Linked DNA regions of Homo sapiens: all the other regions are linked to region 1. The links are contacts of gene promoters, found by promoter capture Hi-C in blood cells and fetal thymus (Javierre and others, 2016). All regions are on one chromosome and are shown on one strand. Each heading gives the region's core, a stretch centred on a gene start or on the middle of the fragment in contact. The rest is flanking DNA. Distances are from core to core; before and after follow the strand shown. Region 1 holds the start of FMN1 (formin 1). Region 2 overlaps ARHGAP11A-SCG5 (ARHGAP11A-SCG5 readthrough). Region 3 overlaps ARHGAP11A-SCG5 (ARHGAP11A-SCG5 readthrough). Region 4 overlaps AVEN (apoptosis and caspase activation inhibitor). Region 5 overlaps RYR3 (ryanodine receptor 3). Region 6 overlaps RYR3 (ryanodine receptor 3). Region 7 overlaps RYR3 (ryanodine receptor 3).

What was found. The method cuts DNA at HindIII sites, captures the fragments that hold promoters and counts their contacts. A CHiCAGO score of 5 or more calls a contact.
Region 2: a contact is called between a fragment that was not itself captured here and the fragment with the promoter of FMN1 in region 1, in 3 of 17 cell types (monocytes, fetal thymus and M0 macrophages). The highest score is 9.7, in monocytes.
Region 3: a contact is called between a fragment that was not itself captured here and the fragment with the promoter of FMN1 in region 1, in 1 of 17 cell types (monocytes). The highest score is 5.2, in monocytes.
Region 4: a contact is called between a fragment that was not itself captured here and the fragment with the promoter of FMN1 in region 1, in 1 of 17 cell types (naive CD4 T cells). The highest score is 5.2, in naive CD4 T cells.
Region 5: a contact is called between a fragment that was not itself captured here and the fragment with the promoter of FMN1 in region 1, in 3 of 17 cell types (endothelial precursors, erythroblasts and M2 macrophages). The highest score is 7.6, in endothelial precursors.
Region 6: a fragment that was not itself captured here is called in contact with the fragment with the promoter of FMN1 in region 1 in 1 of 17 cell types (endothelial precursors); the score reaches 5.1 in endothelial precursors.
Region 7: a contact is called between a fragment that was not itself captured here and the fragment with the promoter of FMN1 in region 1, in 4 of 17 cell types (endothelial precursors, erythroblasts, M2 macrophages and 1 more). The highest score is 8.3, in endothelial precursors.

Annotation. Positions count from the first base shown.
Region 1 is chr15:33,193,008-33,196,339 of GRCh38, reverse strand. It overlaps FMN1 (formin 1), which reads left to right and starts at 1,626. Exons shown (of 21, transcript NM_001277313.2): 1 at 1,626-1,762; 2 at 2,280-2,431. It overlaps LOC105370759 (a long non-coding RNA gene), which reads right to left and starts at 1,429. Exons shown (of 3, transcript XR_932090.3): 1 at 765-1,429. RefSeq lists silencers at 1,324-1,533, 1,308-1,647. The HindIII fragment of the contact is 5,074 bases long and covers 1-3,332 here.
Region 2 is chr15:32,666,021-32,669,400 of GRCh38, reverse strand. All of the region lies in intron 10 of ARHGAP11A-SCG5 (ARHGAP11A-SCG5 readthrough), which reads right to left. The region is part of intron 2 of SCG5 (secretogranin V); the gene reads right to left. It overlaps SCG5-AS1 (SCG5 antisense RNA 1), which reads left to right. Exons shown (of 4, transcript NR_135505.1): 2 at 283-401; 3 at 2,913-2,962. It overlaps LOC124903458 (a long non-coding RNA gene), which reads right to left. Exons shown (of 2, transcript XR_007064573.1): 2 at 2,281-2,598. Among named protein-coding and RNA genes, the nearest start is that of SCG5-AS1, 5.4 kb to the left of the region's middle. The HindIII fragment of the contact is 2,880 bases long and covers 228-3,107 here.
Region 3 is chr15:32,646,631-32,650,500 of GRCh38, reverse strand. The region is part of intron 10 of ARHGAP11A-SCG5 (ARHGAP11A-SCG5 readthrough); the gene reads right to left. The region is part of intron 2 of SCG5 (secretogranin V); the gene reads right to left. Among named protein-coding and RNA genes, the nearest start is that of SCG5, 6.9 kb to the right of the region's middle. The HindIII fragment of the contact is 6,991 bases long and covers 1-3,870 here.
Region 4 is chr15:34,034,443-34,038,085 of GRCh38, reverse strand. The region is part of intron 1 of AVEN (apoptosis and caspase activation inhibitor); the gene reads left to right. The region is part of intron 1 of CHRM5 (cholinergic receptor muscarinic 5); the gene reads right to left. Among named protein-coding and RNA genes, the nearest start is that of AVEN, 2.9 kb to the left of the region's middle. The HindIII fragment of the contact is 1,225 bases long and covers 667-1,891 here.
Region 5 is chr15:33,711,826-33,715,434 of GRCh38, reverse strand. All of the region lies in intron 43 of RYR3 (ryanodine receptor 3), which reads right to left. Among named protein-coding and RNA genes, the nearest start is that of CHRM5, 250 kb to the left of the region's middle. The HindIII fragment of the contact is 1,568 bases long and covers 1,391-2,958 here.
Region 6 is chr15:33,748,480-33,752,343 of GRCh38, reverse strand. RYR3 (ryanodine receptor 3) reads right to left here. Exons shown (of 104, transcript NM_001036.6): 55 at 3,814-3,864; 56 at 2,290-2,365; 57 at 2,058-2,181. Among named protein-coding and RNA genes, the nearest start is that of CHRM5, 220 kb to the left of the region's middle. The HindIII fragment of the contact is 1,837 bases long and covers 1,696-3,532 here.
Region 7 is chr15:33,728,936-33,732,617 of GRCh38, reverse strand. It overlaps RYR3 (ryanodine receptor 3), which reads right to left. Exons shown (of 104, transcript NM_001036.6): 47 at 3,592-3,682; 48 at 924-1,144. Among named protein-coding and RNA genes, the nearest start is that of CHRM5, 240 kb to the left of the region's middle. The HindIII fragment of the contact is 1,560 bases long and covers 830-2,389 here.

The sequences.
Region 1 (3,332 bases), core at 377-2,876:
CTCAGTTTTCTTATCTATAAGTGGAATTTACAAGGGGAAGATATGAGGATTGAAGGAGATAATGTATATGAAGTGCCTATGGAGCCGGGCACAGCACTTCACAACTGTAATCTCGGCATTTTGGGAGGCTGAGAAGGGAAGATCGCTTGAGCTTAGGAGTTTGAGACCAGCTTGGGCAATATGGTGAAACCCTGTCCCTACAAATAAAAAATTAAAAAATTAGCTGGACATGGTGGTGCCCGCCTGTAGTCCCAGGTACTTTGGAGGCTGAGTTGGGAGGATGGCTTTAGCCCACGGGGTTGAGGCTGCAGTGAGCCAAGATCGCACCACTGCACCCCAGCCTGGGTGACAGAGTGAGACCGTGTGTTAAAAAAACAAATAAATAAAGGGCCTATCAGTGTTTGGCTAATATTGTGATTAAGAATAAATCAGAGTTCCAATAAACTATTATTTCTAGAAAAAAAATAGTGAAAAAAATCACCTTAAAAATACCTTCCAAATTTTTTTCCCATTTACTTATTTGAAAACAGAATCTATTCAGGACAAAATTCTATCTTCAAGTACCAAATGGGTGATACAGTTCGCATTTATCCAAAAGCAGATTAAAGACAATGCCTTTTCTTGCCTACCTACTTGGAAAAGATCTCAGTGTCACTCAAATCACATTCCAAATCTCAACGACATTAAGGCCTCAAATCCTCTTAGGAAAGGTTTGAAGGTAGTTCATTTCAGTAATGATTAGACACTTGGGGACAAAACAGTACCTTGGCATCAAGGTCTGTACTGATTCACCAGCACAGAAATAGCAGTAACAAGATCTTCAACTCTGAGGTGTTCAAATAAGCAGACAAACTCCCTCGTGAGGCCCAGGCCTCTTGACATCCGGACTCAGTCTTTCTTTCTCAGATCGCCAAGGGTCTGGCCCATTTCTCAGCCTAAACCTATTTTGCGTTTAATTCAAACCAGTCAAAGTAACTTAACCGCCAGCAGTTAAAAAGCTACTAGGAGGAAGCGTAGGCAGGAGATGGGAGAGGAAAAGGCTCCTGTCAGGGTTTGGGCTTATGTGTGGATTCTTGAATTCTCCTTCTTTGTTCCTTTTAGCACTTACGATCAAGAACGGCTAGGCTGAGGGGGCAGGGGGGCCAGGCCACTGGAGCGAAACGGCCTCTCCGGATCTGGAGGCGTGGGAACCTCGGGAATAGTGGGGAGTTCCAGACCAGTTCCCTTCCCCCATCTGAACAAGTCCAGAGCGTGCGCCTTGAGAGGCGCTCGGAAACAGGGAAGCTGGGGACACGTAGCGAGAGACTGGTTGTCGCCCTGGCTGTCCGTCTTAGACCTAGCTTAGCGACCACCGCCTTCAATCCCTCAGCCCGGATCAGACGGTGCCAAAAGACAGCACTGCTTCCCAGCCTGGCCCAACGGCTCGGCTGCTGATTGGGCACCGCCGCCTCCCGCCCCGCCTCCCCTGCCACCTCGGGCGCCGCTGCACGTTTCCACTGGTCTTCAGCCCTGCCGATCAGTTTACTGCTCACCTCCCCCAAACAGCTCGTCAGGCCGGCGCGTGCTAGGAAGGCGGGGCCTGTGGCCTGTGGGGCGGAGCCTCGGTGGAGGTCGGCGCAGCTGCCCCTTTGGGCTTTGGCTCTGGACTGGAGCGCAGCATCCTTCGAGGCTGCAGCCGCCACGGCTGTTGCCGTAAGCAATCCTCCTGCCTCAGCCTCCCGAGTAGCTGGGACTCGGGACCAGCCTCCCGAGTATTGGTCAGGTAAAGAGAGTCTTGTCTGTTCTGCTGGCCATCTGCCCGTCTCTTCTTCCCGACCAAAGGCTGCCTGCTCCGCCTTCCCCCGTGGCTTTCAGGGTTCTTGGAATGAGGCATCAAGTCTATTTACCCCGCCAGCTTATCTTCCTCCCCTTCTGTGTCGGTTCCTCCAGCTCCCCCACCAAGCTGCTCCCAAGTACGTTGGTGGGCCCTCCGGGTCATCCCAACGCTCCTCACTACAGAACTCCTGTCGTTGACTCTCAGGTCCCAGCCCCCTTGACCCGCCAGTGCAGTCTCATTCCCAGCTTGGCACAGGAAAGGTGGAGGGCGGGAGGGCGGGAGGGCGGGGGACGGAGAGATGCAGAGCTTTTTTTTTTTTTTTTTTTTTTTTTTGAAGCTGGATGTGTTTAGCGCAGAGGGGGAGCACCACAATGGGATTGCATTGGGAACAGAAGCAGCTTCATGACTATGGTTGGCAATGACTAGAAAGGTATCTGTTGCTGCTTTTTGCTTGTGTTTATAGATGACATTTACCATCACCGTTTTCTTCTTCTTTCATCATCATCATCATCACCATTGCCACTACCACCACCTCCAAGGCCACTACCACCACAGCATCTCTGTTCCTCCATCAGAGCTCTTCAAGTTCTGTAAAGGCAGATTCTCTAAAGGCATGTAAGTGCTGACGGATCCCCCAACCCCCTCCCCCACCACCAAATAACGAACAGTGCTCTTGCCCCCTGAGGCCAGAGCCAAGCCCTCATTTAACTCAAGAACAAGTAGCTGGGAGCAGAGTGTGAGCTGGGAGGATTTTCCTTATCCTCATTTGCAATTGAGATTGCCAAAGAAAACCCTTTATTTTAATCATCCACATTTCTGCTTGCTGTCTCCTGGAGAGTTCCATGTTAGCACTCACACACTCCGAATGGGCTGAATGCAGAGCCTGAACCTGTGATATATATGGGGAGTGGCAGTCACTGAGAGGTGAATGTCCAGACCCAATCCTTTAAGAAGACCAGGTGGAGTAGCAGACAACCTGACTTTCTGCTACAGTAGCTCCAGCTGTACTAAAGCATGTTTACTATTCATGTTTGCATATGGGACATGTGCCATCATCTGCTATGCCCCCTTGCGTGTGTATTGGCAGGGGGGCGGAGGGGCGCATCTAAATTCCTAGGAGAGAGAATTATATTCTGTTCTCTACACCAGGTAGCATCTTATAGGCACACCAATGGGATTCAACAGCCGTTGCTTAGCTGTTTCTAGGGCTTACTGCAAATCTCTTGGATCACAGACTTATTAACCCTTTTTTGGGAGGGAAAACAGTATAGCTGAGAATTGCATACCAGATTAACTGTCGTTGTGGAAGATGTTGCTTCCACAATGAATCAATGAGGTCTCGGGTCTTCTTGATCAGATATCTAAACACTAGTCTCCTTTCTCTCAACTGTGTTACAGTCCAGGAGCAGGACCAATGAATAGTTAGACATATTGCAGGAACAAAGAAGCAATGGCCTCAATGGAGGGAAACAATGGAGAAGAGTAGTGAGACAGTATATTGTAATGGCTAAACTCA
Region 2 (3,380 bases), core at 418-2,917, 530 kb after region 1:
CGGTGAGGATATGGACACAAAACTGTGAAAAAGTAAAAATATGGACTTGGGCTCTCTAGCATCTGGTTCCATATACAGGCCTACCGCCTCCAATTATCTAAAGCTCCCACTTCATCTTCCTTTCTGAAACTACACTTACTTATGACATCATTTGTCCAGAACCTGAGCCCCACCTCTCTGTTCTCAATGACATAGCAGGTCCTATGTATCATTCCTTTGGGTAAGCTTCTCTACTAACATGATAATGAGTGCTAATTAACATGTAGTACTCTGCTCCTGTAGGATTTGCAACTTAGAGGATTTCTGGGATAATTCTCTTAAAGTAGTGACTTCACCAACAGGAATTCCAGGCCCCCTGGTGTGCCAGCTCAAGGGATAAGCAGAGTATGTCGGGTTCCCAGGTAAGGAAAAGGGGCAATGGCAATGACAATCCTGCAGGCAGAAATAAAGACATTAGGGGCCAAACCAGAGCCAGGTAAATGCATAGGAAGTTTATAATTAGTGACCCAGCATCCAAGGAGATAGCTTCCTACACTTAAGAAACGAGTAAAGGAGATCTGCAGGAGCTTAGGGAAGAGAGAAGCAATGAATGGCTGAGCCAACAGATGACATTAACACCAAGACACCACCGTGAGAGTGGAGGTGACCCTCCGCCCCAGACCCAAAGCTCTCTGATGGTTTCTGTTGAGGGTCACCTTCCAGTCAGCCTGGGCTTCACAGAGGAAGCAGGTCACTGGGGACTATGGTTGAGGAGGTGTGGATAAGGGTTAGCAGGAACTGTGTTGGACCCATTCTGGATGGGATGAGGTGGGAGTGGCAGGGCCTGGCAGCGCTGTGCCCATTCAGAGCCCCTTCCACCAGCTGACCTGGTTCCGCACTGGCCAGGGGAGTGGTCCTAGCACAGATTTTGGGTACACGGCTTGGGAATGTAATTATTCCATCATGTCACTTCCACCCATATGTCTGTAGACTAAAACGAGGAGACTCCATCTGAGTCTGACAAGGCCTTTTGGGCCACGACAAGGAACGTGATTCTCACTTGGCCTTACAAATTCGTACCTGAATTAATTACCATTCCTCTACTTCTTTTTCACTATCCTAAGCTGCTGTAAATCCATAAGTGTTCTTTATAAATGGCTAGAATAAACATTTGTTTTAGACAGTAATCTCATAGAAAATTCTTTTCTGTTTCTGAGTTCCCAGCAGCTACTACTATTTTTTGGCAGCTGGTGGTGGGGTGAGGGTTAATTCTAGCCTCGAGAGGAGAAGGCACGTGGTGTGTACGTTGGGGAGGGGCCCAGACTAAATCCTCTACAACCCTTTGGTAATGCTTTCCTGGCCTGTGGTTTCCCATCTCATACAAATATTCCCAATTTCTCTCTTTTATATCCATGTAACCTCTGCCTGGCAATAGGTATTAAGAATAAAGTGGGTCCGGTGGCTCATGCCTATAATCCCAGAAGTTTGGGAGGCCGAAGCGGGTGGATCACTTGAGGTCAGGAGTTTGAGACCAGCCTGGCCAACATGGTGAAACCCCATCTGTAATAAAAATACAAAAAAGTTATCCAGGCATGCTGGTGTGTGCCTGTAGTCCCAGTTACTCGAAAGGCTGAGGCAGGAGAATCACTTGCACCCAGGAGGCGGAGGCTGCAGTGAGCCGAGACTGTGCCACTGCACTCCAGCCTGGGCGACACAGTGAGACTCTGTCTCAAAAAAAAAAAAAGAATAAAACTACAACAAACCAAACAAAACAGTATTCACTAGTTATTATCAACTTTGTGCCAGACCTGGAGCCAGAACTCAATGTTATGTTAAAAGAGATAGACTCAAAGGCGGCCACAAAGCTGTGTGGACAGTGATGAGCAATTCGTGCCTTAAAGTCCAAAGGAGGTGCCTCCGGCAATACGCTCAGACAGCTGCAGCACTACACACAGACACTGGAAATACACCTCACAGAATTCTTCTGATTCTTAAAAATGGCAAGTCTCTTACCCACACATGGTAAAACGGGTGAAGAAAGCACACATAACTCAAATTCATAAAAACACCAAACTTATCTTTAAAAATGGGCTTCAACCTTCCCATCCACCCACTTCCAACCAAATTTTTAACTAGAACTATTGATGAAAAATAATGTTGGCCTGAGTCAGTTCTAGTCCCCTTTATATATTATTTTAAAATAGTATATAGCAGTGCTGTTCTATAGAAATAGAATATGAACTACATTTGTAATTTTAAATTGTCTAGTCTTCTCACTTCAAAAAGTAAAAAGAAATAGTGAAATTAAATAATTTTTAATCCCAATATATCCAAATTATCATTTCAACATGTAATTGATATAAAGAATTGCCAAAGAGACTTTTTATATTCTTTTTTGCATACTGTCTTCCAAATAGGGTGTGTAGTTTATACTTAGAGTACATCACAACTCCAGCCAGCCATATTTCAGGTGTTCAGTAGCCTCTTGGGCGTGGTGAATACCAAATCGGTCAGAGCAGGTGTATAGAGGAGGCTAGACATGGCGATCAAAAGTGCAGCCTGCAATCCAGATGCTTGAGTTTGAATATTGGCCTCATCACCTTAGCTGTATGACCTCATCTGTAAAACAAGAATACTTAAGTAATACCATCCTTAAGCCGTTGGTATGAGGATAAAATAAAATAGTCCTTGTAAGGCTTTTTGCAAGAATTCTGGCAAATATTGTGCTTAATAAATGTTAGCTAGGGTGGTCACTTTATAATGCATGAGCTCTATACTTAAAAACATATGTGGTCCTGAACAAGTTATCTTACCTCTTTGAATATTAGTTTCCTTCTCTGTAAAACAGGGGTGATAATAATACTTCATTGAGAAGATTAACTGGTACAAACATAGCACTTAATAAATGTTCGTTTCTTTCTCCTTGACTTTAGGTGCCAATGAACAGAGAAATAGCCAAAGGGCTCGCTGAGTGGGAGCAGAGGTAAATGGGCCTGGATAATTGGAAAACTGGATAGTCACGAGGTTAACTATGCCACAGGCAAGAATCCAGATGGTTCCAACCTACCTCAGCCAGTGTGAGAATGCCCAGTAGATGTGTTTCTTTTGTAGTTCCTTTACTAGAAGCTTTATAAGAGCAGGCATGTTCACTGTTTCACAGGCTAATAGAAATAAAGTATGTATGTGCATCTTATGTAACATATCCCTACGTATGTATGCTGAATTCAGTAGGCAGCCATGTTCAGTATTTTAGAGCTGTAGCCATCACTCAACTCCCTTGTGTTGATAAGAAGAAACATTCGGGGAAAAGAAGACCTATTTGTTTATTGTAAGATTCAAAATCTCTAAGGGTAATGGCCTTTATTTCTTTCCTACTCAGAAGTTTGTTTTTCCCTATTTAA
Region 3 (3,870 bases), core at 1,371-3,870, 550 kb after region 1:
GTGGGCTTGGGAGAAGATGGTTACTGCTGAAATATATGGTGCACTGAAGCATATCTGAACTGTATTGCTAACTGATGAGTAATCAAAAATAAGACTGGGGCGCCGGGCGTGGTGGCTCACGCCTGTAATCCCAGCACTTTGGGAGGCCGAGATGGGCGGATCACGAGGTCAGGAGATCGAGACCATCCTGGCTAACATGGTGAAACCCCGTCTCTACTAAAAATACGAAAAAAAAATTAGCCAGGTGTGGTGGCGGGCACCTGTAGTCCCAGCTACTCGCGAGGCTGAGGCAGGAGAATGGCATGAACCTGGGAGGGCAGAGCTTGCAGTGAGCTGAGATCCCGCCACTGCACTCCAGCCTGGGCGAAAGAGCAAGACTCCGTCTCAAAAAATAAATAAATAAATAAGATTGGGGTAAGCCATTAAAGACTGAAAACATGTTGTTGATAATCCACAAAGTGAGAGGAGGAAGGCCTGCAATTCAGTTACTAATGGCACCCACTGATTGCATGTAAGAGTGGGCTGGAAACCCCATTTTATTTTATTTTTATTTTTCAAACACCAACTCGAACCAGACAAGCCCATTTTATTTGGGCCGATTTTATTTGAGAGAACTAGGCTTAGAAAGTTGCCAGGATTACACATAGCTAGAAAATAGTACGGCTACGGGTTAACCCGAGTTCTCTGCCATAAACATACACACTCTTTTTTTTCATGTAATGCCAAGTAGGTCCCTGTTTGTCTTTGTGTTTTTATTTGCTTTGGACTAAGAATTTACACATTTGAAAGATGCTCCTTACCAAGCTGTTTTTAAGGCGCCCACGGAGAAGTTAAACATAACCCCCAATCCTCTCTGGATGTTTTGGCAAATGCTTCTACCCCAGCGACCACTTAAAGCTATTAACGACCAGGAGGCTGGCTACCAGGGTTCAGGAATCTTCCAAAATAAACTTCTAGTCTAGTTGGCCCTCTGCTGGTTTAGTCCCAGGACTGCAAAAAGTCCTTCTAGCTCCTTGGTAGGCGCTGTACAAAGGGCACAAACCTTGCACCATGGTGATCACAGTCATAGTCAATTCTAGATAACAGACATTTTTGCTCACCACATTATCACTAAGCTCATGGCAAGAACCTCTAGGCAGAGATTTTTAAAAACAGAATAGAAATGGAATATTTTCCTTGAACTAAAAGGCAGAAAGTCTTGACAGATCCAGATGTAAAACAGTATTTACATACTTATTGCCATTAGGTATATTTATTTCCCCCTGATATTATACATTAATTCCTCAAATATTTACTGAATGCTTACTATGTGCCTGGAATATAATGCAGTTAATAAGCAGATATAGCCTCATGGAGCTTACATTCCAGTGGAGAGATAAACAATAAGCAAGAAAACAAACAATGATTATAAATGACAAAAAATGCTATGGAGCTTTAAAAAAAAAGGCTGGACATGGCGGCTCACGCCTGTAATCCCAGCACTTTGGGAGGCCAAGGCGGGAGGATCACGAGGTCAGGAGGCTAACACGGTGAAACCCCGTCTCTACTAAAAACACAAAAAATTAGCCGGGCGTGGTGGCGGGCGCCTGTAGTCCCAGCTACTGGGGAGGCTGAGGCAGGAGAATGGCGAGAACCCGGGAGGCGGAGCTTGCAGTGAGCCGAGATCGCACCATTGCACTCCAGCCTGGGGGACAGAGTGAGACTCTGTTTTTTTTTTAAAAAAAAAAAAGGAGACTGCAACAGAGAATGTAGGGGGGTGCTACTCAGACAGGGCAGTCAGGCAGCCCTCTCTGAGTGGGTGACTTTGAAACTCGCTACACAAGGAATGGGAGGTTGATAGCCTCCCATTGTTGATCCCATCCAATGTGTTGATAGCCTTGAGGTGGGAAGAGGCCGGTGTGACTCAGGGCCAGAATGCGTGGAACAAAGTAGGGAGTACGATTGACTGGAGCTGTGGATCCTCGTAGGTCATGGCAAGAAGGGTTATTTTTATTCAGGGTACGATGGGAAGCCACCAATGGAATTGTAACTACGGAGATGACACTAATATGGTTTAAACTTTTCAAGTTTAACTCCTGAAAAAAGTTTAACTCCTGTTCTTCCTGTGAAGAACAATCGAAAAGGGATCAAGAATAGAAGCAGGAAGATGAGTTAGGAGGCGATTTCAAAACTCCATGCCAGACATGATGGTATCTTGGACCAGGGTGTTTGGAGTAGAGCTAGAGAGAAGCAGACAGGAAATTGCACATGGATTTTAGAGATAAAAATGAAATAAATTACTTAAAATTGAGGCATGAAGTGTGATGGAGAAAATCAAGGGTTACTGTAGGTATTTAGTTTGCATATATGGCTAAGCAGGGGCACTACTCATTTAGACAGAAAAGACTGATATAAACAGGCTGGGGAAGGTGGTGGTTTGAGAAATCAGGATCGAAACCTGGCAATTTAGCAATTAGTGTAAGCCTATGGATATGCAAGAAAGAAATGTGGGCTGAAATACAAACACCGGAGTCACCAGCCAAGAAATGGATTGAGAGTCAAGAGAATGAATGAGATCAAGTAGATAGAGAATTGAGGGAAATAAGAGAAGTGGACCCAGCACTGAGCCCTGGAGAACTTAACTTTTAAAGGCCGCCAGAGAAACCTGTAAACGAAACTAACAAATGGGTAAAGAAAAAAAGGAAAAAAGGAAAGCCCAATACTTATTTGTTTATTTAAGGACTACATTTCCTCGCCCTGCTACTTTGCTGTTCACGTTTATTTCCTCAGTACCTAAAACAGTGCCTGGCACTCAATAAATACTAGTAGGTTTAATGAATGAGCGGTGAGAACAGTGGGCTACAATGGACCAGGAGAGAATGAGAGGTGAAGAAGTACAATTGGCATGTGAGGAAAGGCTGTGAAAGGCAGCTGTGAAAGGTTGCTGTGAAAGGCAGCAGAAAATTGGAACAGTAACTAGAAGGGATATGGAATCAAAGAAGATATGTTTTTTTTAATGGGATATATGATACCTCACTGACCTAACATTAATTTATACTGATACTATATTCCTATACTAAAAGGCCAATTTATAATTCTATATTTGAGAGCAAATATACACATTTGTTAAGATCCATTGATCATACAATTAATTTATTTAAGTAGACAAGATAGATATTTGTCTTCTATGTACCATGTGTTGGGCAGTGAACAACTCTGCCTGCAAGGAACTTAACATCCAGTAATTATCTAAAGTGATGATGATGATGATTTGTTTAGAAATTATTTCATCGTAGCACAGTTATCCATGCTAAAACTTTATTTTTGCTTCTGTGGACTGGAACATTACCTGCTTACAAGTAAGTGAATTTAAATCCTACCCCTAAGCTAAACAGAAGGTTATAGGAGTTAAGTAACTTGCCCAAGGTCATATTAGTAATAAATGATGAAGCTGGCATTCAAATTCGGGTGTCTCTGACAATGGTTTGTGCTCATAAGCACCATGTTAAGTGTATTTGAAATTCACACCAGAATACAGTATTACTATAAAATATGATAATATATTATGTATATTCTTTCTGTAACAATTAAAAATAAACTTTCCCAACTTGGTTCTTCACAATAAAATCCTAAAATCAATGTTGGAAGGGTATGGAAGATACTCCATGTGTCTGTCAGAGGGAATTAGCATCAGGGAGTGTGAGCAAAGATAATGCAAATAAATGGATGAGGTGAAACAATAACTAACTCACATGAATAAATGATCAGACCACCCAACAAATTCAATGCCAAGGTCCCAGACTGGGAAAAACCCAGGCTTTTTATTTTGTTGTTTTTGCCCCAAGTATCTTTGGACTATTTTCTTTGTTAGTTTTCATCCTAGCTATAGTA
Region 4 (3,643 bases), core at 30-2,529, 840 kb before region 1:
TCATCAGTCTTATTGACACATTCATAGAAGGAAGTTTTTGGAGATTGGAGCAGGGGATGATATATATGGGGGCAAAGCTAACCATATCTCAGCTAAAGGAGTTAGAGGACTGTCTTTTTATGAGTTGTTCTGTTACCTTAACATCTGTAGGACAAGACCATCTTTATATTCTGCATTCTTATGCACACTGATTTAAAAAATTCTTTTTTGCATGAGGCAAAATTTGCTCTTACTGAAGTATTTACAATATCTTGAGGGCATAGCAGATAAGATATCCCTAAAGAGAGTAGTTGTATACAGCAATACAGAGCTGGAAAAAAAAGTATAAAACTTAAATTTAAATGTAACAAACTTAAATCTTGTTAGGATTAAGATAGGTAATAGGCAAAACTTGAATGAGATATAAAAACATTTTTAGGGTCAGTTTACCTCGTGTAAACTGACAGAAACTAAGGTAAATGACAGAAACTAAGACCAACCTAGTGCCCACTATATATCACATTTTGTTCTTATAACTCTATTATATATATATAATATATATGTAATGTAGAATTATGTAATATAATAGTATGTAATTATATATTAACTACAATGTTATATATTATTTATATATCCATATATAGAGAGTAATCTTTATTTTTACAGGTTAACTGACTTGCCTAAGCTTTCACAGCTAGTGGCAGAGCTGGGATTTATATCAAGCTGCCCTTGAGTCAACAGTATTTTATCTCTTACTTTTTCGTGAACCAGTTACCACTTTATTGAGAACAAAGTAGATATTCCTTAGCTGCAGGGATCGTGCTTTAAGAGTAATTGTAGTAATGGTACATTTGGTGTTAACTATGGTGTCTGGCGCACAGGACTTTACTAATAAGTGTCTTTAAGTTGAATTGAGTGAGTGAAGGTGCTTCTGTTTTGTTAATCTCTGTTGAATTAAATTGGGTGAAATGATGGTATATATTTTTTTTTTTTTTTTGAGACGGAGTTTTACTCTTGTTGCCCAGGCTGGAGTGCAATGGCATGATCTTGGCTTGCTGCAACCTCCGCCTCCCGGGTTCAAGTGATTCTCCTGCCTCAGCCTCCCAAGTAGCTGGGATTACAGGCATGAGCCACCTTGCCCGGCTAATTTTGTATTTTTAATAGAGATGGGGTTTCACCATGTTGGTCAGGCTGGTCTCGAACTCCTGACCTCAGGTGATCCACCCGCCTCGGCCTCCCAAGGTGCTGGGATATGGATTACAGGTGTGACCCACTGCGCCTGGTCATGATGGTATATCATTAAAAGAAAGAATAATACAAGACTTTAAAAAATTTAAGATAGTATTGTAACACATTCTGTTAAAATTTTAGGCTTTTTCTTTTGTCGAGTTGGTCTTATCCCTTCATCATCATGTTTTCAGCCAAAGCTGGAGGGAGGGATGTTGGGCAGATTGTTCCTTAATTTTGGTTTGGATTGGTCATCTCTAAGTTCCTTCCATTTCTCAGATTCTGAAGTACTGTTTGTATTTAGTCTTGCTAGGACACCATTTTTGGTGCTTAACCATTACATGAGACAAGATTGATTGACTTTCCTGAAGCCTTCTTGTTCTCATATCCCATGGTGCATTTGTGCCCCAAGGAGAGAGTAACCGAAATGATCAAAGGAAAAAAAAATCATAATAGACTCCTAGCCATGTAAAGACCAGTTGTCCACCTTCAGAAACCAATTTTGTGTACACCTTTGCTTTCTATTTTGGACCACTGCATACAAATGGAAAACAAAATCAATCTAACCAACTTCTACATAGCTATGTAATACTCCAGGGTAACTTAGTTGAGTACTAAGTTGAGTACATCTCTTAGTCTCTTGCTCTTAAATCATTCCTTCTGTAAATGGTCTGAGCTCTAAGCTTACTGATTATGGGTGAGCATAATTATCTTCACGGAATACTCACTAGAAGCATTATTGTACTAGATACAATCATTAACTTTAAAAAAAAAACACAAAACTGGCTGGGTGTGGTGGCTCGCGCTTGTAATCCCAGCACTTTGGGAGGCTGAGGTGGGTGGGTCACTTGAGTCTGGGAGTTCGAGACCAGACTGGGCAACATAACGAGACCCCCTCTCTATAAAAAAAATACAAAACTGCCGAGCATGGCGGGGTGCATCTGTAGTCCCTGCTACAAGGGAGGCTGAAGCAGCCGGATTGTTTTGAGCCCCGGAGGTGGAGGCTGCAGTGAGCTGTGATCCTGCCACTGCACTCCAGCCTGGGCAATAGAGTGAGACTCTGTCTCAAATAACTAACTTACTAACTAAATGAATAAATAATCCCCCTATCACTGCCCCCAATACTAGGATTGTTTAGTATTTATCTTTGTGATGGGCTGTTAGCAGAGAGGAAGACAAGGCCAGCTGGTAGTCTTTGGAATTTTTTTTCTTTTTTCCTTCCTCTAGTAATAACAGTAATTCACATTTGTCGAGTACTTAATATAAGATGAGACAGCTGAGGCACCGTTAAATAACTCACAGTTAGGAGAGGTGAAATAACTTTTTAATATCACTCAACCAGAAAATTGCTGAGCCTGGATTCCACCCCAGCATTTTCACTCCAGAGCCTGTTCTTTCGACTGCTGCTCTAAACTGCTCCTGGAATGACTTTGAGATTTGAAAAAGGGGTGTGTGGAGGACTGTTGAGTGATTCTTTCACATGCCTGATTATTTTTTTAACTGATATGTTAGTATGGTTATAAGGTTTTAAGGTAACATTGGTACCATCTTCAGTTATTGTGGGTGTTACCAGACCTTTGCTTTCTTGCTCCATGTTTATATTGCAGCTTTTCATATTCCTTTTAAAATGATTTATATTCAATAAAAGATGAGACAGCTGTTTATAGTTGTACTAAAAAGTAGAATCTGGAGGCATTTAATTCTGATCAAACTTTTGCTTTGTAAACAAAGCCTGAGTAGTAATTAATACCCGATGGCGTTGACATTTTCATTTCACTGGGTAAAAAGGAAATCTCTAATTTTCTATTCAAGTTTAGTGTGAACCTGGAGGGAAGAAATGGTGTCAGATCAGTTACAGGCAGGTGTCTAAGGACTTGCTCCTTCATTGTTGCTCAGAGTAGCCACCAGCCGCTTGTCAGCCAGCTAGAGACTGAGAGCCTGTTAAAAGCTCAAACTGAAATGACAGCCTCTAGACTTTATTTTCCTTTTTTTCCAGAAAGCCTGAAGCAAATTTGGTTAGAAACTGAATGTGCTTAAGTGTCCCAACAGAAGATTGCTTTAAGATTAGTTCTTGGTAATCCATGAAATTGACCTCTCCTCCTGCTGCAAACCATTGCACACACACTGTAATTATTTTGGCATCCTTATCCTTGTTAACATATTCTGTTTTTAAGTTGCTTTTCTCACTGACCACTATTTCACTTACATATTTTCAATATCAACACAGACAACTGAACTTTTTTGCTTGTATTCTGCCTAAAAAAATTTTGGGAAACCATGTACAATGTACTTTAAAGTTTATATCTAACATTTTTATCAATGGATCAGAGAATTTCAAAATATAAAATTTCCAACATATTGTATATATTGACTTTTTAAATAAAAACACAATTTTTATAAATTGATTTTTTCTTTTCCTTTTTTTTTTTTTTTAAAA
Region 5 (3,609 bases), core at 925-3,424, 520 kb before region 1:
ACATTGCGATGTTGTTCCTATTTGTCTTAAACTGTTATTTAAATCTTTTGCCATTGGTTAATTTTTCAAGAGCTTGCTGAATCTTTTCAACTGTTTTATAAATTTGAGAACAAAACTATGTGTCACACATTTAGTCCTAACCATGCCTAGTCTAGTACCAATCACACTGAAGAATGGTTAACATGCCCTTTCTGACTCTAAAAACATGAATACAAGGGCAGAAATAAACCAGATGATTCTTAAGTGTCTACACCTTGTATGCCCTTCAAAGCTAAGATGACACTTTGTACTCTCAACCCTAAAAGATGTATGTCTCCCAGCACAACAGTCTATCCATATGCTCTCCCTTTAGGACTTTGTTAAACTATATCCATTTATTTCAAGATGTTATTCAACACTTGCCTTCTTCCTCATGCATCCCTTGACTAATTCTACCAGATTCCAATAAACACCATCATTTTGGCATGCCAATGTCTCATGTGTCACTATGTAGGTAGGTGTGGTTGATTACAAAGTTTTTAGTAATTATTCCATACATGTTTCTGATCACTCTACTTGGGTTTTCTCTGTTTCCTGCTTTGAGTTGTAGGAAGTGACTTCTGGGCAGGACTTCTAGAGCATCACGTTTCACAGCCCCTCATAGACTCTTCACATGTCACATGATGGATGTCCAAGTTATGGCCACTGATAATAAATCTACCTAGGAAAGCAGATTCAGCAAAGCTAGGAGATATTATGTTCCTTAAACTAAGTTTGTAGTCTGGGGAAGATATCGCTATAACTCTCCAAGGACTCTAAGAAAACACAGAATAACTTTTCCCTTTTTCTTGTGGATTGATAGGAAACCTTTTCCTTCTCAGAGTCTACAATAGGAAGGGATTAATCACAGACACCCAAACACATCTGTGCTTAGCCTGGCTACAGTGCCTGCAACTGCGGGGAAAATAGAAGCTTAACGACTTCATTACTTCCAGAGTTAAACACAACCCAAGGCTTCTCAACAGCTAATAAAAATAAAGTGAAGCAAATTATATGCCTTAAAACATTTTCTTAAAGACAAATATTTAAGAAGATTTACTACAAACATTAAGAAATAATAGTAAATTAATGTTAGAAAGAGTTTTCTAATTCCATTATTTTGATATATTAAAAGCTTTTGATATGGCTTAAAATTTTTAAAATTAGCACCAAACAGTGATTAAATAATACCACCATTTTTGACAAGCTCAAAGGAGAAAATGTTGTTTCTCCTTGTTGATTAGGGAGACAGGAAGACAACAGTGCACAATGGTTCATAAACTGTGGCCTCTGGAGTCAAACTGCTTGATTCAATTTCTGGCTTTACTTTCTACTACCTATGAGACTCTGGGCAAGGTATTTAATCTAAGCTTCAGGGTCTTCATCTACAATATGAAGATAATTGTATCCACTTGCTATGGTCTGAATATTCGTGTCCCCCCCACCCTCCAAAATTCATGTTGAAATCCTAACTGTCCAGGTGACGATATTAGGCAGTAGGGCCTTTGGTAGGTAATTAAGTCATAAGGGCAGAGCCCTCATGAATGGGATTTGTGCCACTACAAAAGAGGCCCCAGAGAGCTGCCTTGCCTCTTCCACCATGTGAGAACAAAGTGAGAAGGCACCATCTATGAACCAGGAAACCTCACCAGACACTGAATCTGCCAGCACCTTGATCCTGGACTTCCCAGCTTTCAGAAGTGTAAGAGATAAATTTACGTTGTTTATAAGCTACCTTGTCTATGGTATTTTGTTATGGCAGCCTGAACAGACTAAGATGCTTCCCTCATTGGATTGTCGTATAATTAAAGTTAATATATGTAAAAGTGTTTTGAACAGTGCCTGGCACATGGTAAATGCTCAATAAGTGTTAGCTGTTATCCTCACCACAACCCTCACCACCCCCATCATCACTCACCATCATTCACCACACTCACCCTTATAACCCCCCTATATGACCATGCACCACCCAACCATCATATCCCATCATCACCATCATCATCAGCCACCACCATCACCATGTCTACCTTCACTAACCACCACCCACCTCAGTCACCCTACAACTCACTATAACCACTGACCAACTATCATATTCCACTATCACTAGCATCATCACCATTCATCACCCACTATCACAATTCCCACTACCACTCACCATTACCCACCATGAACACCCCATCACCCACCATAATCATATACCACCACCCACCATCATCTACCATCACCCACCATGAATACTTCCATCATCTGCCACGATTCCTTATATCACTTTTATCTTACATTGCTGAGCAGAGTTCACAAAGGTATTCAGAAAGTCCTTTTGAATCACCTTTTAGACATAAGGACTTATAAAGGGCTTTGAGATTCCAAAGAAATCTGTTTATTACAGTTTTCCCATTTCAAATGCCCTACCACTCTCGTAAAGATCATGAACAACAACTATCATAACTACAAGTTTATAAGGTTTGTGGCACTGGGCTGATCTAAGTTTTCCATGGATTATTTCATTTAAGCCTCACAACTCTGTGAGGCATACATTATTATCATCTCTGTTTTACACATAAAAAAGCACTGAGGTTAGGTATTTTGACTAACTTGCTTCAATTCACACAACTAGTAAATGATAGAGCCAAATTTGAACCCAAGTTACTCCATTCTCTACTCCAAACTCTTCTGTAACATTCTGTTGTGATTGAGCCACTATTCCTCCTCCTAAGTATTCAGAAATATTCTCATTTTTCTTTTTCATACTCTCCACATTTTTCTTTTTCATGCCTTCACCTGTGGCAACCTACTGTGAAGCATTTGAGCTACCAATGGACTGCAAATCTACTTAGTTCTAATCTGTTGATTGATTTCTATCCTACAAATTCAATTAGGGGTATCTCTATATGGGTACTGTACACAGAAAAATCAATATAATGTGACCCAAGCCAAGCTTATTACCTTCCATCTCAAACCATTTTGCTTCTTCTGACATCCTTATTTCTTTCTCTCTACCCTCAAAAATCTTTAAGCTTCAATGTGACCTCTGTTCCTTTTCTCTCAACATACCTAGGCTCAGCCATCATCATCACCATTCAGTCCTTGATACAGTTTGTATATTTGTCCCTGCCCAAATCTCATGTTGAATTGTAATCCCCAATGCTGGAGGTGGGGCCTGGTGGGAGGTGTTTGAATCATGGGGACAGATCCCTCATGGCTTGAGGCTGTCTTCACAACAGTGAGTTCTTAAGAGATCTGGCCATTTAAAAGTGTGTGGCACCTCCCCCTTGCCTTATGCCTGCTTTCACCCTATGATGTGCCTATTCCCCCTTCACCTTCTGCCACAATTGAAAGCTCCCAGAGGCTTCACCAGAAGCCAAGCAGATGCTAGCACCATGCTTCCTGTAAAGCCTGCAGAACCACGAGCCAATTAAACTTCTTTTATTAACAAATCACCCAGTTTCAGGTATTTATTTAGAGTAATGCAAGAATGGACTAATACTGAACATTTGTACCAAAGATTGGGGTATTGCTATAAAGATACCTGAAAATGTGGAAGCAGCTTTGGAACTGGGTAGGTGGCAGAGATTGAAAGTGTTTGTAGGG
Region 6 (3,864 bases), core at 1,365-3,864, 560 kb before region 1:
AATATTGAGAAAATGGCCATACTGCCCAAAGTCATTTATAGATTCAATGCTATTCCCATCAAGCTACCATTGTCTTTCTTCACAGAATTAGAAACAACTACTTTAAATTTCATATGGAACAAAAAAAGAGCCCGCATAGCCAAGACAATCCTAAGCAAAAAGAACAAAGCTGGAGCCATCACGCTACCTGACTTCAAACTATACTACAAGGCTACAGTAACAAAAACAGCATGGTACTGGTACCAAAACAGAGATATAGACCGATGGAATAGAACAGAGACCTCAGAAATAACGCCGCATATCTACAACTATCTGATCTTTGACAAACCTGACAAAAACAAGCAATGGGGAAAGGATTCCCTATTTAATAAATGGTGCTGGGAAAACTGGCTAGCCCTACGCAGAAAGCTGAAACTGGATCCCTTCTCTACACCTTATACAAAAACTAACTCAAGATGGATTAAAGACTTAAACATAAGACCAAAACCATAAAAGCCCTAGAAGAAAACCTAGGCAATATCATTCAGGACATAGGAATGGGCAAAGACTTCATGACTAAAACACCAAAATCAATGGCAACAAAAGCCAAAATTGACAAATGGGGTCTAATTAAACTAAAGAGCTTCTGCATAGCAAAAGAAACTACCATCAGAGTGAACAGGCAACCTACAGAATTGGAGAAAATTTCTGCAATCTATCTGTCTGACAAAGGGCTAATATCCAGAATCTACAAGGAACTTAAATTTACAAGAAAAAAAAAAAAACCTCATCAAAAACTGGGTGAAGGCTTTGAACAGACACTTTTCAAAAGAAGACATTTATGCAGCCAACTGGCATACGAAAAAAAGCTCATCATCACTGGTCATTAGAGAAATGCAAATCGAAACCACAATGAGATACCATCTCATGCCAGTTAGAATGGCGATCATTAAAAAGTCAGGAAACAACAGATGCTGGAGAGGATGTGGAGATATAGGAATACTTTTACACTGTTGGTGGGAGCGTAAATTAGTTCAACCATTGTGGAAGACAGTGTGGCAATTTCTCAAGGATCTAGAACTAGAAATACCATTTAACCCAGCAATCCCATTACTGGGTATATACCCAAAGGATTATAAATTATTCTACTATAAAGACACATGCACACGTATGTTTATTGCAGCACTGTTCACAATAGCAAAGACTTGGAACCAACCCAAATGCCCATTAATGATAGACTGGATTAAGAAAATGTGGCACATATACACCATGGAATACTATGCAGCCATAAAAAAGGATGAGTTCATGTCCTTTGCAGGGACATAGATAATGCTGGAAACCATCATTCTCAGCAAATTAACACAAGAACTGAAAACCAAACAGAAAACCAAAAGCAAACATGTTCTCACTCGTAAGTGGGAGTTGAACAATGAGAACACATGGACACAGGGCGGGGAACATCACACCCCAGGGCCTGTGGGGGTTGTGGGGGTAGGGGAGGGATAGCATTAGGAGAAATACCAAATGTAGATGACAGGTTAATGGGTGCAGCAAACCACCATGGCACGTGTATACCTATGTAACAAACCTGCACGTTCTGCACATGTACTCCAGAACTTAAATAATAATAAAAAAATATCTAGGGTACTGCATTTACCCTGTTATCATGTGCTGCAAATTATCACCACTCTTTAAAGAAGCCCAAATTCCAAAGCTTTGAGGTTGTATTATGGATGTCATTTATAACTCCAATAAAGAGAATATACAAAGAAAGGGCCTTAGCCCATAGCACAAGGTTTGTGAATGAATGCATGTTTATATATTTTAAGTTACAATGAAATGTTTAAGGTATGTAGGTATAATTTGTAATAATTCTTTGTTGTCACTGATCTTTAAAAATTAATACCTAACATTTCTGCTTATATCAAAAAAAGAGGGCTTCATGTTCTAAAATAAAAATGTTCTCATTTTAAAAGACTCAATTGTTCTCCTTACTTGGATGGGTTTTGTAGGCACGTAATTAAATATCTAGGGAGGCACAGCCCTGTCCCACTAGCATCACATGGAAGGTGACTTACCTGGAAACTATGATGCCATTCACTTGGAGGAACTTAAACAGGTCCTGTGCCTTCTCCCGGTCCTTGAACTTTTCCTTGGCAGTCAAGGTGTCATATGGTACCAGAAGAGGGTGGCTGCCACCACCTGGGGTCAGTAAGGTGAGAGATGACATTTGGCTCTTCCTTTGCACTTCTGGGAGACCATAGCTGCCCCGGTTCAGCTTCTTTAGGGGATGCTGTGAACCTCACTCACCTTTGCTCTCCAGCTCCAGCTTCTTCTTCTTGGCCCAGATATTGTGATAGTTCTCAGCCACGACCTCCACCATTCCCTGTGTCCCACCAAGAAGAGCCAAGTCAAAAAGAAAGAAAGCAGGCAAGCTGGCTTCATAGCTGCTAGGTCATTTCAGGCAGCCTCGGGAAAAGCACACCACTGAACACTAACAGCAGACGGCCAAGGGCTTCCCATCATTAATTAGTGTGTGCTTATGTACCTCATTAGTTTCCTATCCTCCCATACACATAGAAAACAATTTCTAACTCTGTCCTTCCCTTGTAACTTATTATTCTGGCAGTTTGATGCATTTATGAGAAACATCCATTTCCACTTGAACCCGCATGCTGGCAGCACATCATTTTTCACAGCAGCTTGGTATTGTACTCCTGACCTCAGACGGGGAGTTGGGAGTGCGGGCCAAGAAAAGTCTAGAACCCCCGAAAGCCTATAGCTTAACAAACTAAAAATAATCACGTCTTAAAGGAAAGTGCTGTAAATAAGATTTCTCTAGTAGAATCCATCTTTGTAAGGCTTGTAAAACAGTGACTTAGAATGAAGGATGTACTTTGGAAAGAAACTTTCTCGAAGGTCCAAGGGGCTGGTCTGATGGACTTCCAGAGGGTGAGTGCTCCAGGCTAGGGCAGGCCACAGCCACCAGTGTGTACAGGAGGGGAGCAACGGGAGGAAGCAGCTTAGGGCTTTCAGTTTCAACCCCTTGGTCTTACATTCCTATATCCTGCAATGATTGCCTGCCTGCACCATCACAGGGAGCTCCAGCAAACCCACTGTGGGACGTGTGGGCTGTCCTTATGTTTTGGGGGCCTTACAATGACCAGCAAGCACCTCCATTGAGGTGCTAAATTTCACAGATTTTGTCCTAGCTGTCTTATTTATTTTGGTTTTTGATACAGTATAGTCAGCCTTCCTTAACCATGCGTTCTGCATCTGTGGATTCAACCAATTGTAGCTTGAAAATATTTGGAAAAAAATGTGTCTGTACTGAACATGTACAGATTTTTTTCTTGTCATTATTCTCTAAGCAATACAGCATAACAACTATTTATATAGAATTCACATTGTGTTAGGAATTATAAATAATCTAGAGATAATTTAAAGTATATGGGGGGATGTGTGTAGGTTATAGGTAAAACTATGCCATTTTATATCAGGGACTTGAGCGTTCGTGGGTTTTGGTATCTGTGGGAAGTCCTAGGGTAAAGCTTTCATGGATGCTGAGGAATGACTCTAGTGCGCTGGTGGTGCTTCCTACTGAGTCAGCATCCATCATGAAGTCCTTAGAAGAAGCGCAAAGCCTCCCCTTGGAGGATTGGTTCACTCTGCAGAGACTTTCCCTGTGGCCTCTGCACAAGGTGACCGTCTTCAGTTTTGAATTTTAGTGGTGATATGTTCTAGGCATTCTTTCCCTTTTTTCCCCCTTTAACTCTTTGGAAGGTAATGCGTCCTGCACTTGAAAGCAAGTCATGCTGGACCTGGGGCACTGACCTGGAGCTCTCTGGAGAGCACAACGTTTGAGAGGTCGAGGGGAGCAGGACT
Region 7 (3,682 bases), core at 360-2,859, 540 kb before region 1:
TAAGACCTGTTGAAAGGGTCGTCTTCCTTGGATTCTACCAGACTTGACTTAGATTCCTGAAGACCCAAGGCTCTTGGGGTGACTTTACCTTTTGTCCTCAGCTGGCTCTGATGCCCATCTGCAGTCATAAAAATTATTGCCTTTAATTCCCCACTGTGACTGGAGGTTTTTTCTTTCATTTGTTGCTGGTCTTGGGAGGCCTAGAGGTAGGTCGCTTTTTTTTTTTTTTTGAGATGGAGTCTTGCTCTGTCGCCCAGGCTGGAGTGCAGTGGCATGATCTCGGCTCACTGCAAGCTCCACGTCCCAGGTTCACGCCATTCTCCTGCCTCAGCCTCCCGAGTAGCTGGGACTACAGGCGTCTGCCACCATACCCGGCTATTTTTTTTTTTTTTGTATTTTTAGTAGAGATGGGGTTTCACCGTGTTAGCCAGGATGGTCTCGATCTCCTGACCTCGTGATCTGCCCACCTCGGCCTCCCAAAGTGCTGGGATGACAGGCGTGAGCCACCGTGCCCAGCCGGTAGGTTGCTTTTATTCACACTCAGAGTCTGGCTTCTATGTAAGATATGCTCATGTAGAGGACAGACACATCTGCTTCTGGCTCTATCTTGAGAATGAAGAGAATGAAGACAGCCCTTAATCTGAACAGTTTAGGCCTGAAATAGTCTTCTGGTCCATCAACCGTAATGGGTAAAGCCTGAGCTGTGCCCTCTCCCTTCCCCCAAAGGGAAAGATGAGCCTCAAGGAAGAGCCTGTGGCAAATAGGGGAGCCGAGCACATCCTATGAGATGTCTGGGGGAGGGCTGGTGTATGACAATGGCCTGGAAGCTTCCTTAGACTAGACCACCAGTTTTTAGATTACATAGGAAAATGCAGTTGACCTGGATGCATACACAGAAGTAACAACATAGGATATGTACTTACTTGCAAATGGCAAGCAAACATTCTTCTATAGTGTCCCTTTGTGCTTTGGTGAGGGAACGTCCCTTGGATAGCCTGTATATTGTCTGCAGTGTGGAATCAATCAGAGAGGTGCAGTGTTCTGTTCCGGCAAAGAGAGGGGCACATCTTGTGAGGAGCGGGAGCACAGCAGAACATATATACCTATTTAGTGCAAGCGCAGCCTCTGTGGTGCTTAGGGAAACCTAGAGAAAGAAGATTGGGACACAGGTTAATTGCCCTGAGGAACAGAGCAAAGCTGGCTCTGCACAGAGTTCCCATGTAGCAAGCTGTGGGAGCTTATATATGTCCACGTTGCATAGCAAGGCAGTGAACAACTTTCTACCTTATCGGCAGTTCTATTTTTCTTTTTGCATTTTCAATGAAAAAAAATCAAGTTAAAAGAAAGAACAAAAAAAAAACACACAAAAAAATCATAACAAAGGCTAGCTGGCTCTAAGTCTTCCCAAATGATCCTATAAATATCTGTTCCCTTCAAAAGAATTTTGAACTCATTAAAATCAGCTGATGGCCAGTCTAACCCAACATTTTGATGCTTGCAAAGTCTAGTTGCCAGGATACTACATTACTATTCTGGTTTTCGCTCTCTTTTCTCACCTACCAGGGACTCACACACTGTAATTTTACAACTGTAAGATTAGTGAATGGTTATAGGCCAAGCAGTTTCTCAAATTCACCAGTTTTGTGAAAGCGAAAGTGGAACTCTGACTCCTTTCAGTTAATTGGTGAGCACTTCGAGCAATTCACAATCAATACTGACATTAGAGTAGACCCCACTAAAGGGAACCTGACTCTGCATGGGCAACGTGGAAAAGGAACAGAAACTTGGGACCTTCTGTACAACTCTAACATAGTTCTTGCTTACAATGCTCTTTGATGTACATTTAGACGGATGAATGGAATACAAGGAAAACCCATTTAGTGACACTAAGTATAGCCAAAGCATGCTTTACCACCATCTTTGAAAACTATAGAACTTTCGAAAGAAACCTTGAGATCCACAGAGATGAAATATTGCCATTTCCTGTGATTCCTGCAGTCATTCTATCTGTAACACACTTTATATAACTTATGATTTGAAAAACCATTTTCTTTGAACTATATACATGTCTCATTGTTCCTATAAATTATCTAAATTATCAAGTTTGTCTCCTAGAAACTTCAGTAATCATGCTGGGAGAAACAGCTAATCTTTCACATTTATCACTTTAATATACAGACTTAAAACGAGAAAGGACAGAGCTTTGATTTCAGTAGATTATAAGTTTTCAAAAGAGAATGCATGAATGTCTATGTGTTAATGAACTGAATATAACACCTTTTTGTTGTAGATGGTGTTTGGACAAACATGTGATTGAACACCAGATACTAGAATAGCATTTGCTGTTTATTTGATTTATAAAAACATTAAATTATTTGATCAGGAAGCTTGGGGAGATCCCATGAGTTAAGAAAATTATTTTTAAAATCAAATAATTTATAGAAAAGTTCAAAACAACAGCAGTGGCAGAAGCATTGTTTTAATTATTCACAAATAATTATTCATAATTATTCATTATGAATAAAAAATTATTCATTGTTTTATTATATCAAAACATTGGGTTAGACTGGGTTATTCAGTATTAGGGATCGTATACCCTAATACTGTCATATATACCATTTATCATCACCATACCACACATGGGAATGCAGCTCCCACTCAGGTTGGGGCTCATATTTCTTTCCATTTCTGGATAACCCATGCAGGTGGAATCCATCCAAGTTAAGGTATTTGCCGCTGACAACCCATCACAGAGCTCAGATTTCTGTCTCTGTTGGACACCAGGTGGAGCCTTTGAGAAATGTTATAACTAAAAACAACACTAAACTGGAAAGATGTTTTTTAGACTTACGCAGATCTAGTTTGTCTTTTCTCCTTGGACCTATGACTCCTGGTGTACCTTTTTCTGCTTAGTTCTGACTTGTGGCATCTCGTATCTGAGCTTTGTAACTCTAGGGGCCTCCTCTCTTGATGTTTGTTGATGGTGAACTACCTTATCTATCTCACCCTTGATTTCCAAACTTATATTTGCCTTTGTCCTCTTGTATTGACCTTCGTCAGGCCCCTGGCTTCAGACCTATCCATCCTGGTGGTCAGTACATGAAACTAAGAAGCGAGAGTGTGAAGAGTAATGTCAGCCTATAATGTTGCCAGCCAGCCTTTTTCAAAGGCAATAGAGACACGGTCTCACCAGAGGGTGATTTTGTCCCCGAGGGGACATCTGGTGATATCTGAAATTGATTTTGGCAGGGATTCGCGGTGAACTGGGGTGCTACTGATATCTAGTGGGTAGAGGCCAGGGATGTTGCTACACGTTCTACAATGCACAGGATAGCCCCTTAACATTTACTGTCAAGGTTAAAAAAACTCTGCAATTGAGGGAGTTGGATTTGGGGTCAAATTGACCTATATCTAAGTCTCTGGCCCAATAAATTAAGATCTTCCATTTCATGATACCTCTATTTTCTCACCCATTAAAGTAAGCTATTAAAATGTAATTGGTGAGTAAAGAGAAAATATTTGCTTCGAAGTCCAACATTACTAATTTCACAATGATGGGAACAATAATTTTTTGTTATTTTTGCAACTTACTGTATCTAGAGAGGCAGAAGCTCTTAGGTCAGGTAAAAATCCAACCTCCAGCAAGTGGAGCAGAAAAGTTTGATCCTTAATGCCATAAACG